Regions from separate parts of the Homo sapiens genome. Here regions 2 and 3 are each linked to region 1. The links are contacts of gene promoters, found by promoter capture Hi-C in human tissues and cell types (Jung and others, 2019). All regions are on one chromosome and are shown on one strand. Each heading gives the region's core, a stretch centred on a gene start or on the middle of the fragment in contact. The rest is flanking DNA. Distances are from core to core; before and after follow the strand shown. Region 1 holds the start of DOCK7 (dedicator of cytokinesis 7). Region 2 has its middle 43 kb from the start of ATG4C. Region 3 overlaps DOCK7 (dedicator of cytokinesis 7).

What was found. The method cuts DNA at HindIII sites, captures the fragments that hold promoters and counts their contacts. A contact is called where the count stands out against the background at its distance.
Region 2: a fragment that was not itself captured here is called in contact with the fragment with the promoter of DOCK7 in region 1 in 2 of the 25 tissues and cell types used here (bladder and hippocampus).
Region 3: a contact is called between a fragment that was not itself captured here and the fragment with the promoter of DOCK7 in region 1, in 2 of the 25 tissues and cell types used here (hippocampus and psoas muscle).

The regions. Positions count from the first base shown.
Region 1 is chr1:62,686,153-62,690,352 of GRCh38, forward strand. It overlaps DOCK7 (dedicator of cytokinesis 7), which reads right to left and starts at 2,234. Exons shown (of 50, transcript NM_001367561.1): 1 at 2,075-2,234. The coding sequence starts at 2,112. DOCK7-DT (DOCK7 divergent transcript) reads left to right here and starts at 2,330. Exons shown (of 2, transcript NR_185999.1): 1 at 2,330-2,500. RefSeq lists a silencer at 1,587-2,336 and an enhancer at 3,346-3,640. The HindIII fragment of the contact is 7,491 bases long and covers 103-4,200 here.
Region 2 is chr1:62,739,023-62,743,222 of GRCh38, forward strand. No RefSeq gene overlaps it. Among named protein-coding and RNA genes, the nearest start is that of ATG4C, 43 kb to the right of the region's middle. The HindIII fragment of the contact is 9,788 bases long and covers 1-4,200 here.
Region 3 is chr1:62,646,999-62,651,198 of GRCh38, forward strand. It overlaps DOCK7 (dedicator of cytokinesis 7), which reads right to left. Exons shown (of 50, transcript NM_001367561.1): 5 at 1,417-1,546; 6 at 1,108-1,320; 7 at 693-778. Among named protein-coding and RNA genes, the nearest start is that of DOCK7, 39 kb to the right of the region's middle. The HindIII fragment of the contact is 3,976 bases long and covers 1-3,681 here.

The DNA.
Region 1 (4,200 bases), core at 984-3,483:
ATAACTTTTTTTTTTTTTTTTTTTTTTTTTTTTTTTTTTTGAGACGGAGTCTCGCTCTGTCGCCCAGGCCGGACTGCGGACTGCAGTGGCGCAATCTCGGCTCACTGCAAGCTCCGCTTCCCGGGTTCACGCCATTCTCCTGCCTCAGCCTCCCGAGTAGCTGGGACTACAGGCGCCCGCCACCGCGCCCGGCTAATTTTTTGTATTTTTTTTTTTTAGTAGAGACGGGGTTTCACCTTGTTAGCCAGGATGGTCTCGATCTCCTGACCTCATGATCCACCCGCCTCGGCCTCCCAAAGTGCTGGGATTACAGGCGTGAGCCACCGCGCCCGGCCAGTAATAACATTTTTTAATGACATCATCATCAGAAGTAAGACCTAATTATTTTACAAAAAAAAAAAATTTCCTGTCATCATAACTCCCTGGGAGAAACTAATTACTACAAGTGTTTGATGACAGGTAGTATAGGCCCTGTACTATCCTACGCACATTACACAAATTATGCCACTTAATGTTCACAACAACACTATGAGCTGGGTCCTATTATTATTCTCATTTGCCAGACGAGGAAACGGAAATTTGGCCCAACAACTTGGCCAAAGTCCCAAGCTAGAAAATACCAATCAGGATTTGAACCCATGTCGGGGTCTGAGAGTAGAGCCCATGCTCTTAAACACTTGCTATTTTGCCCCTTCAGGAAAAAAAAAGTGCTAGAACGCTGGAAAGAAAGAAAAAAAAAAGCCTCTGCCTCGAAAGCAGCTAGGACGACAGGTGCAACACCACACCTGGCTAATTTTTTTGCAGAGATGGGGTGGGGGGGACTCGCTATGTTGCCCAGGCTGGTCTTGAACTCCTGGCCTCAAGCGATCCTCCTGCCTCGGCCTCCCAAACTGCTGGGATTACAGGCCTGAGCCACTGCATCCGGCCCAAAATTTTTAAAGAAATGTCAGCAAACTAAAAAGACTCAGAGCCACAGAACTACAACTGCCCCAAAACAAAAAAAGGTAATTTAATATGAATGCTTCTTTTCTTGGGACATCATAATTCACACAAATATGATTTTATTAAAACAAAAATGTCTACTGTCTCATACATAAGTATACTCCACAAAGAAATTCTACAAATATTAGAGTCCTCTGTCATTTAATTTTTATTTGGCGGGTGGGAGAAAGGTGGCAACCAACCACCACAAGTAGGTGAAAGGCTTTGAAACCTCCACCTCAATCACTTGCTTTACTTCAAGACTGCAATCACTTGCTTTACTTCAAGACTGCTAACATATAAAAGGATGTCAGTGTATAAAGAACACTGCCTATCATCCATCTTCTCGGGTGCTCTGAGAAACACAGGCGCACAGTTAAATTCACAGGCGAACTCAGAACAAGCTTCAGCCTGCAATCCGTCAGGGATTCGGCAGCTGCACACCGAAGGTGCAGCCCGCAGCTCTCAACTTTTCATTCTGTCCACACGTTTTCAATCCTGGACGCACAAGTCCACTTTGAACCTGGCCCGAGGGTGCAAAGAGGGTTCCTGTCAGATTTCTCAGGAAGAGAGAGACGCGTGAAGGAGGGGCGGCCTCCCACCCGCCCCGAGCCGCCGCGCGTTTCTCCTTTTGTTGGGGTGGAGGAGGGCGGACCCCGCACCCTCTAGGGGCCAAGAGGGGTGGGCGGAGAGACGGGAGGGGGCGAAACGCCGCGGCGGCCCCCGACGAGCCCGGGGGTGGGAACACAAAGAATTTGGGAAGCGGCCGACCGCCCTTCCATAAACCTCCGCAGAAGTCCAGGCCCGGGCCGCCGAGGAGCAGGAGGAGGCGGGCGCGCTGGAGTCCGCGGCCCTCTCCGCTCCCTGCCGAGGCTCAGCGGCGGGCGCGGGCTGAAGGCCGGGGTTCGAGGGCGGCGCGAGGCCTCCGCTACCCCCTCAGCCACCCCGAACCCCTTCCGCCCCGCCGCGAGCCAGGCCGCGGGATCCCGGTGCCGGCCCCGCCACACCCACCCGCCTCCTAGGCCAGGCCTGGGAGGACTCCGCGGCTCTTTCTCGGGCGGCGGCGGCGGCGCGCCCCACGCCGGATATTTACCTGCTGATCTTCTGGGCGAAGGCGCGGCGCTCGGCCATGGCTGCTGCGGCGACGGCGACGGCGGCGGCGGCTGCGGCGGGCCGGGTGCGGACCGGCGGGCGCGTGCCTCCTCGCTCGTGCTCCCTCCCTCGCGGCCTCCGCCAGTCCGGGCTCCGGACCTGGGAGGCTGGGGCTGGCGGCCGGAGCCAGGAACGAGCCCTGCCGTAATGTTCCTTAGAGGCGCGCAACGAGAAACCGCTCCTCCCCCAGCGCGTCAATCCCGGCGGGAACCCCGGCTGCGGAAGGCGGCTGCGGCCGGCGGGAGCCGAGGGGAAGAATGGAGCGCTGAGGAAGCGAGGCGCCAGCCCCAGCCGCTTCGCTGCCGCGGAGCCTGCACGACCGAGAGGTCGCGGAGAGAAGCCAGAGACAGGCCAGCGACCTGGCGAGGCAAGAAAATAAGATAACCGAACGCGTAGGGGGAGCTTGGCTTTCCCGAAATGGAAGGGAAGGAAATGAAAGGTGGGCTTTGCCGAGGGGGCTGTGCTTTAACCAAAGCCCTGGATGACTGGGTTCATGTTTCTGCAGCACCGGTCTCCGAGCTTTTTAAAGCACTTGGGTTTCTGCTTCGGCCTCATGAATGCAGCCTAACTGGAGAAACAGTGGTTTTTCTTATAGAGAAAGAGCCAGAAAATACCTTGCTCCTGCAGCGATAACAATAGTAATAGTTGACTTCTGGTGCTTAGCCAGCCACTGGATTAAAGTTTTTCAAGCACGAGCGCTTTGAAGTAGATCGTTACTATCACTATTTTAGAGGGAAGGAAATTGGCTTGGAAAAGCTAAGTGACTGGCCCCAGGTCGCACAGATGGTAAACTCTTCCACTGAGACTCAAACCCAGAGCCGGTTCTTTTCTTTGAGGACAGTTGTTTCCGTATTATTAACCCCTTTTGGATCTCTCTCTGTCTCTCATACATACATATATATATATATATATATATATATATATATATATATATATATATATATAAAATCCAGGTGAGCTCTAACGTTCACCCCCATTTTGATGTTCTGTTAAATAAGCTCTGTGTTGACCACTGAAACTGACCTTGTCCATAATAGCCTATAAAACAGAGACTAGCAGAGATTTGTTTTCATCTGTTCTGTTGTAATCCCATAATGTCTAGAATATTTGGCTCCTAATGCATATCTGTTGATACTGAAATTATGGTGACACTAAGAAAAATATCTTGGTTTCTTGTAGTACCTTTCCTCTTAAGTATTGCAAGAACTTAAAATGTGTATTTATTTATTGTTATTATTATATTCTCAGTATGTCCTGGTGGAATATGTTGGATACCTGTTTTCCTCTCTTTTACCATTGGAAAATCTGTAGCTTGGAGCCATTAGGTCACTTGCCAGAGTCACACACTGAGTCAGAGGTGAAAGCCTCAATTAGTCAGATCCATAACTTCCTGTCTAGTGCTGTAACTTCTGTGGAAGACTGTGTATTTATATAACAATGCTCATTGCAGTAACACACTGCTTTTATTTATTGATTTATTTATTTTAGACAGAATCCCCCTGTGTTGCTCAAGCATGGAATGCATAGGGCACTGCAGCCTAAAACTCCTAGGCTCAAGCAATCCTCTTGCCTCAGCCTCTGGAGGAGTAGCTAGTACCACAGGCTCTTGCCAAGGCGCCCTCCAGTAACACACTGTTTTCAGATGCTTGTTTACTAAAGGAAAAGATAGTCTATTCAAAGAGGACAGATATTTGGCTTCTACCTAAGTATAGAGCCCACCTAGGTGTTCTAAAAAACACGAAGGTGAACTAGACACAGACCTGCTCTCAGAATGTTTGAGTCCATTGGGAAAGATGAACCAGGTACTCACAGACTGTAAGTCAAGGCTATCACTGTACCTGGCTTTTAAGACCCTCTGTGATAGGAACCCAGACTTATTTTGCCACTTTCTTACTCTGTAACCTTAGGCAAGCTACTTAACTTCATCTCTAAAAGGAGGAAAATAATTATATCTACTTGAAAGGGTGTTGTGAAGATTTATTGAATTGATTAATATAAAGTTCTTAGAACAGGGCCTGGTTCATGGTAAGTACGATGTGTGTCAGCTGTTGTTATTATTATCACTGT
Region 2 (4,200 bases), core at 632-3,131, 53 kb after region 1:
CCCTGGGGGGCTGGGCTTCCTATCATACTTGCAGCTATATTCCCAGAGTCCAGTATAGGGTCTGGGACCAAATGAATAAAAGATCAAGAATGAACATGGAGTTCAGAATCACAGTGGAAGCAAAAAGTATATTTTAAGAAGGAATGAGTATTCTACCAAGCCTAGCTTAAATGTCAACCTAGAGCTACCTGATGTTAAACAATCTAAGTAATCAGCCTGGGCAAGACGGCAAGCCCTAATCTCTACAAAATTGTTTTTAAAAAAATGGCAAAGGAGACTGTGGGATCATGGCGGATGGCAGGCAGGACTAGATTGTAGCTCCAGACAGAGCAGCATGCAGAGGCTTGCACTGTGAATTTTAGCTCCAGATTGACTGCAAGAACAAACCAGCAATCCTGAGAGGACCCACAGACCCTCTAAAAGAAGCAGACTGCTGCTGCAGGACCTGGGAGACACCCCAAATACTGTGAATGCCTCAACTGCAGAAGTGGGAAAGGGAGACCCTCCTCTCCTGAACACACACCCCCACTGGAAAAGCTGAAGGTCTGTTCGTGGGAGAATTTTCTGCCCTATCTTCAGCCTCCTCAAACAAAACAATTATCAGCCATGAATTTTGTATCCAGTGAAACTAAGCATCATATATGAGGAAAGATACCGTCATTTTCAGACAAACAAATGCTGAGAGAGTTCACCATTACCAAGCCACTCCTACAAGAACTGCTAAAAGGAGCTCTAAATTTTGAAACAAATCCTGGAAACACATCAAAACAGAACCTCTTTAAAGCATAAATCACACAGGACCTATAAAACAAAAATACAAGTTAAAAAGCAAAAACAAGAAACAAAACCAAAGTACACAGGCAACAAAGAGCATGATGAATGCAACAGTACTTCACATTTCAATGCTAACATTGACTGTAAATGGCCTAAATGCTCCACTTAAAAGATGCAGAACTACAGAATGGAAAAGAACTCACCAACCAACTATCTGCTGCCTTCAGGAGACTCACCTAACACATAAGGACTCACATAAAGTAAAGGGGTGGAAAAAGGCATTCGTGCAAATGGATACCAAAAATGAGCAGAGGTAGGTATTCATATATCAGACAAAACAAACTTTAAAGCAACTACAGTTAAAAGAGATAAAGAAGAACATTATATAATGGTAAAAGGCCTTGTCCAACAGGAAAATATCACAATCCTAAACATATATGCACCTAACACTGGCACTCCCAAAATTATAAAACAATTACTAATAGACCCAAGAAATGAGATAGACAGCAACTCAATAATAGTGGGGGACTTCAGTACTCCACTGACAGCACTAGACAGGTCATCAAGACATAAAGTCAACAAAGAAACAATGGATTTAAACTATACCTTGGAACAATGGACTTAACAGACATATACAGAACATTTCATCCAACAACCACAGAATACACATTCTATTCAACAGCACATAGAACTTTCTCAAAGATAGACCACATGATAGGCGTCAATACATTTAAGAAAATTGAAATTATATCAAGCACTCTCTCAGACCACAGTGGAATAAAACTGGAGATCAACTCCAAAAGGAATCTTCTATACCATGCAAATACGTGGAAATTAAATAACCTGCTCCTGAATGAGCATTGGGTCAAAAATGAAATCAATATGAAAATTAAAAAATTCTTCAAACTAAACAACAATAATGATACAACCTATCAAAACCTCTGGGATCCAGCTAAGGTGGTGTTAAGAGGAAAGTTCATAGCCCTAAATGCCTACATCAAAAAATCTGAAAGAGCACAAACAGACGGTCTAAGGTCACACCTCAAGGAAGAAGAGAAACAAAAACAAACCAAACCCAAACCCAGCAGAAAAAAGGAAATAGCCAAGATCGGAGCAGAACTAAATGAAATTGAAACAACAACAACAACAAAAACCAAAAGATAAATGAAACAGAAAGTTGGTTCTTTGAAAAGACAAATAAAATTGATAGACCATTAGCAACATTAACTAAGAAAAGAAGAGAGAAAATCCAAATAACCTCACTAAGAAACAAAACAGGAGATATTACAACTGACACCGCTGAAATACAAAAGATCATTCAAAACTTCTATGAACACCTTTACACACATACACTAGAAAACCTAGAAGAGATGGATAAATTACTGGAAAAAGATAACCCTCCTAGCTTAAATCAGGAAGAATTAGATACTCTGAACAGACCAATAACAAGCAGCGAGATTGAAATGGTAATTTAAAAATTACCAACAACAAAAGTCCAGGACCAGACGGTTTCACAGCAGAATTCTACCAGATATTCAAAGAAAAAATGGTACCAATCCTTTTGACATTATTCCACAAGACAGGGAAAGAAGGAACCCTTCCTAATTCATTCTATGAAGCCAGCATCACCCTAATACCAAAACCAGGAAAGGATACAACCAAAAAAGAAAATTACAGACCAATTTCCTTAATGAACATAGATGCTAAAATCCTTAACAAAATTCTAGCTAACCGAATCCAACAATATATCAAAAAGATAATCCACCATGATCAAGTGGATTTCATACCAGGGATGCAGGGATGGTTTAACATACATGAGTCAATAAATGTGATACACCACATAAACAGAAGTAAAAACAAAAATCACATGATCATCTCAATAGATGCAGAAAAAGCATTCAACAAAATCCAGCATCGCTTTATAATTAAAACTCTCAGCAAAATTGGCATACAGGGGACATAACTTAATGTAATAAAAGCCATCTATGACAAACCCACAGCCAACATAATAATGAATGGGCAAAGTTGAAAACATTCCCTTTGAGAACGGGAACAAGACAAGGATGCCCATTCTCACCACTCCTCTTCAACATAGTACTGGAAGTCCTAGCCAGAGCAGTCAGACAAGAGAAAGAATAAAGGGCACCCAAATCAGTGAAAAGGAAGTCAAACTGTCACTGTTTGCTGATGATATGATGGTTTACCTTGAGAACCCTAAGGACTCCTCCAGAAAGCTCCTAGAACTGATACAAGAATTCAGCAGTTTCCAGATACAAGATTAATATTCACAAATCAGTAGCTCTTCTATACACCAACAGCGACCAAGCTGAGAATCAAATCGAGAAATCAACCCGTTTTACAATAGCTGCAAAAAAACAAAAAACAAAAAACAACAACGAAAAAAAACTTAGGAATATACCTAATAAAGGAGTTGAAAGACCTCTACAAGGAAAACTACAAAACACTGTTGAAATAAATCGTAGACAACACAAACAAATGGAAACACATCCCATGCTCATGGATGGGTAGAATCAGTATTGTCAAAATGACCATACTGCCAAATGCAATCTACAAATTCAACACAATCCCCATCAAAATACCAACATCATTCTTCACAGAGTTAGAAAAAAAATTCTAAAATTCATATGGAACCAAAAAAGAGCCCCCATAGCCATAGCAAGACTAAGCAAAAGGAGCAAATCTGGAGGCATCACACTACCTGATTTCAAACTATAATATAAGGTCATTGTCACCAAAACAGCATGGTACTGGTATAAAAATAAGCACGTAGACCAATGGAACAGAATAGAGAACCCAGAAATAAACCCAAATACTTACAGCCAACTGATATTCAACAAAGCAAACAAAATCATAAAGTGGGGAAAGAACACCCTTTTCAACAAATGGTGCTGGGATAATTGGCTAGCCACATGTAGGAGAATGAAACTGCATCCTCATCTCTCACTTTATACAAAAGTCAACTCAAGATGGATTAAGGACTTAAACCTAAGACGTGAAACTATAATAATTCTACAAGATACCATTGGAAAAACCCTTCTAGATATTGGCTTAGGCAAGGATTTCATGACCAAGAACCCAAAAGCAAACGCAATAAAAACAAAGATAAATAGCTGGGACCTAATTAATCCAAAGAGATTTGCATGGCAAAAGGAACAGTCAGCAGAGTAAACAGACAACCCACAGAGTGGGAGAAAATCTTCACAATCTATACCTGACAAAGGACTAATATCCAGAATCTACAATGAACTCAAACAAATCAGTAAGAAAAAAACAATCCCATCAAAAAGTGGACTAAGAACTTGAATAGACAGTTCTCAAAAGAAGATATACAAATGGCCAACAAACATATGAAAAAATGCTCACCATCACTAATGATCAGGGAAATCCAAATCAAAACCACAATGC
Region 3 (4,200 bases), core at 444-2,943, 40 kb before region 1:
CATGTTTCTGAATAAATCTAACTAAATATACAAAGCCTTAGCTTTCAAGGAAAGAAATTGCCAGAATTATATATAGACATCGTCTGTCCCTATGAGTTGCTTGTTTCAGAAAGCTCTATGAATTGAAACTTTTTTCTTAAGTCAGAACAAATAATTAAACTTATAATATTAACATGACAGCATGAAATAAGAGAAAGCACTTTGTAAAGCAGAATGTAAACATAACACCTCAATGATGTTAGCAGAAATCAGATCTAAGTTTTTTAAAGAAGGAAAAAATACGTATTTCAAAATCTTCAAAAATCAAAGCCTACTGTAAAATCAACTCTTTGATTTTATATTTGTTATATGGCAGACTTAGCTTCATATATATCTTAGGCTTAGAACAGCAGGATTAGCTTCATACATAGGTTTGAATGCTGAATAGCACTTAAAATGATATACAGAATTTAAAAGTTGACTTTATGTTTGCTACACAGTAGGCTTAGCTTCATAAATACGTTAGGCTTAGCACAGTAGGCTCAGCTTCATACATACGTTTGAATGCTGAATAGTATTTAAAATGACATGTAGAACAATACTTCTCAAAAGGACACAAATGCAACTATAAAATCTACTCAGATTTTGTTACATCACTACTAAAATTTTATCCTGGAAAATAAAAGTTGTAAGTAAAAGAAATAAATACTCACTTGAGTGATAAGCATTTTACAAGAAGTCTTTGACCAAAATGTTCTTTGGGTATATCAGGAACACTAAGCCGTTCTATTGGTTCTTCCTACAAATTGAAAAGCAACACCAAAATGAATATGCTTATCATATTCCAACTCTTTATCTTTTTCAGAACTTACTTTACTAATCTAACACTTTTAGTCTTCACAATAGAACATAGAGAAGAATGACCTATTTATCCACAGACAGAAGTCATTTGATTATAACTTACTCATTAAGAATAGTAAATTCACTAGTATAAAATGTATTCATTTATAAAAATTACAGCTGTTTCAGTTGCTTTATCCTCTACATTTTGTAATACTATATATCAATCATAATCCCAAAAGATCAATTTTAATAATCATTTGCTTCTTTATATGCAAACATCTATACCTCATCTGGTGATGGATGCAAAGCAAAAAGTTCTTTGTGACGGTTTGATTTCCTTTGGTCATCATTCTGACGGTCTATTTCTTCATTTGGAGTTCGATCAAGTAAATTGGGAAGCAAAGCATCAGGAAGTGAATTTTTCAAGTCAAAGATACTACAGGCCCAGCTACCCCTTGGGGTATCATCTATTGACATTGAACGTCTTTTAAGGTCATCCTGTCATGCAAAACATTAAATATAAATATATTAATTAATAAATTGACAACTATTTTTAAATAACTTCTTATAGTTATTTAAGAATAAAAGTATTACTTGATCATCCTGGTAGCTGTTGCCATCTGGAGCTTCATCAGATTCAAAAACTTGTTTTGGCAAACCTTTTTGCCTTTCTTTCTGTTTATCTAATGTATTGGGATTAAATCCTGTTCCCAATTTATGATATCTATTAAAGAAAAAAAGTTAAATAAATATCAACTATCAAACTTAGGAATTTTTTCACTTTTTGGGCATCATTATGTAATAAGCCAAGTGTTTTCTGCATTATTTCTTTATGTAATAAGAATCTATTCTAGCAATTTAGGTTAAAGAAAATTTATATTCAATGTTCCTTTAACCCAGCTAAGGAGTAGAGTATGAGTTTCCAAAAGCAAATCATATTTTCCTTCTTTCCATGCCAATCATGTGTATATAAATTAAGCTGTACTTTCAATTCAGAGAATTGGTCAGTAAAAAGAAAACTTGGGAAGCCAGTAACTTGGGTTAAAGAATAAAATGAGAAATAGAAAACATACACTGAATTAAGAATAATATAAATTTTAAAAGGTTATATACATATAAAGCACTGAATCTTAAAATTTCAAGTAGCCAAGAAATTTTTTGCTATCTCTCGTTATCTATAAAAGATCTTAACCTAAAGCTGCAGACTTGTAAAATGAAAAACAGCAAAATCTACACCATCACTGTGTACATATATATATTAACATTACATATATACACAGTTAGCTAAAAACAACTCTTAAATTAATGCAAGCTTCTTTCTTAACAATCCAATAACAACCTAATACCCAAGAACATCAAATATGAGCTGATCAAAAAGCAATTATTGTTCGTGATTCAACACTTCATAGAGCCAAACTGAAGGAACATTTTAGTTGAAGCAAAACAATAATGTTCACAAGATGGTATAGTTCTTGTTATCACCCAATTTATGAGACAGTAAAGAATCACATTTGATATGAATTACTCACATCCAGTCTTGTTGCTAAAGCTATTAAAATAGCAATTACATGATATTAACATCACTGCATAATCGCAAAAGAAAGTATTTTCTCTGAAAGAACTAAAGACACTCAATATAGTAACATGAAAGTTATTACTTAGAAGCAGGTATCTTAATCTTTAATGGAATGTTTCAAGTGTCTTAATTTGTAAAGCTGCATACGTAAGCTGCTCTGATAAATCAGAATGCTACTGAATTCTATACTAAAAAAATTGACGATATGAAATTCAAGAAAGCAAAGAATGATTCATGATCAATACTCTCTTCTATGTCATCCTGTCCTCTAGTCTGTTGCTATGATAAGGCTCTAATAATTACCCATTCAACCCCACACACATCACCATTTTTCTGACTTGTTTCTTAGCATTCTCACTCTCATTTACGGTTCCAGCCACACTGTCCTCTTTACTCTTTGTTCCTTGAACATTTCTAGCATGCTTTCAATATGGAGCCTTAGCATGTATTGCTCTTCCCTCTGCCTAATAACATTCTTCCCCCAGATATTTACAGGGCTCACTTCCTTCAGGTCTCTGCTCAAAATCACCTTATCAGTAAGGCTTCCTCTGATTAATTATATAAAACAGAAGGTCGAGCATGGTGGCTCACACCTGTAATCCCAACACTTGGGGAGGCTGAAGTAAGAGGATGGCTTGAGGCCAGGAATTCAAGGTAACAGAGAGAGACCTTGTCCCAAGTAAATAACTAAATAGAAACCAAAATAAATAATAAAATAAAAATATTTGTCCCTCTTCTTGGCCCTCTCTATCCACTTCATCCTACTTTTTTCTCCACTGACTCACCTAGATCATATTTAGTCTATATTTACCTGTGTTGGTTTATTGTCTATTGACAATCTCATCTCCCACTAGAATATAAACTCCATGAGGGTAGAGAGTTGGTTTCGTTCACTGCTGTATCATCAGTCTTTAGTATAGTGCCTGGTACATATAAGACTCTCAATAAACACTAACTGAATAAATAAATAAATGAAGTACTTTTGTGTCCCTTTATCATACTGTGCTGAATCGTGGAAGAATTTCATGGCTTCCAAAATTGACAAATGGGATCTAATTAAACTAAAGAGCTTCTGCACAGCAAAAGAAACTACCATCAGAGTGAACAGGCAACCTACAGAATGGGAGAAAATTTTTGCAATCTACTCATCTGACAAAGGGCTAATATCCAGAATCTACAAAGAACTCAAACAAATTTACAAGAAAAAAACAAACAACCCTATCAAAAAGTGGGCAAACGATATGAACAGACACTTCTCAAAAGAAGACATTTCTGCAGCCAACAGACACATGAAAAAATGCTCATCATCACTGGCCATCAGAGAAATGCAAATCAAAACCATAATGAGACACCATCTCACACCAGTTAGAATGGCGATCATTAAAAAGTCAGGAAACAACAGGTGCTGGAGAGGATGTGGAGAAACAGGAACACTTTTACAGTGTTGGTGGGACTGTAAACTAGTTCAACCACTGTGGAAGACAGTGTGGCAATTCCTCAGGGATCTAGAACTAGAAATACTATTTGACCCAGCCATCCCATTACTGGGTATATACCCAAAGGATTATAAATCATGCTGCTATAAAGACACATGCACACGTATGTTTACTGCGGTGCTATTCACAATAGCAAAGACTTGGAACCAACCCAAATGTCCATCAATGATAGACTGGATTAAGAAAATGTGGCACATATACACCATGGAATACTATGCAGCCATAAAAAAGGATGAGTTCATGTCCTTTGTAGGGACATGGATGAAGCTGGAAACCATCATTCTCAGCAAACTATTGCAAGGACAA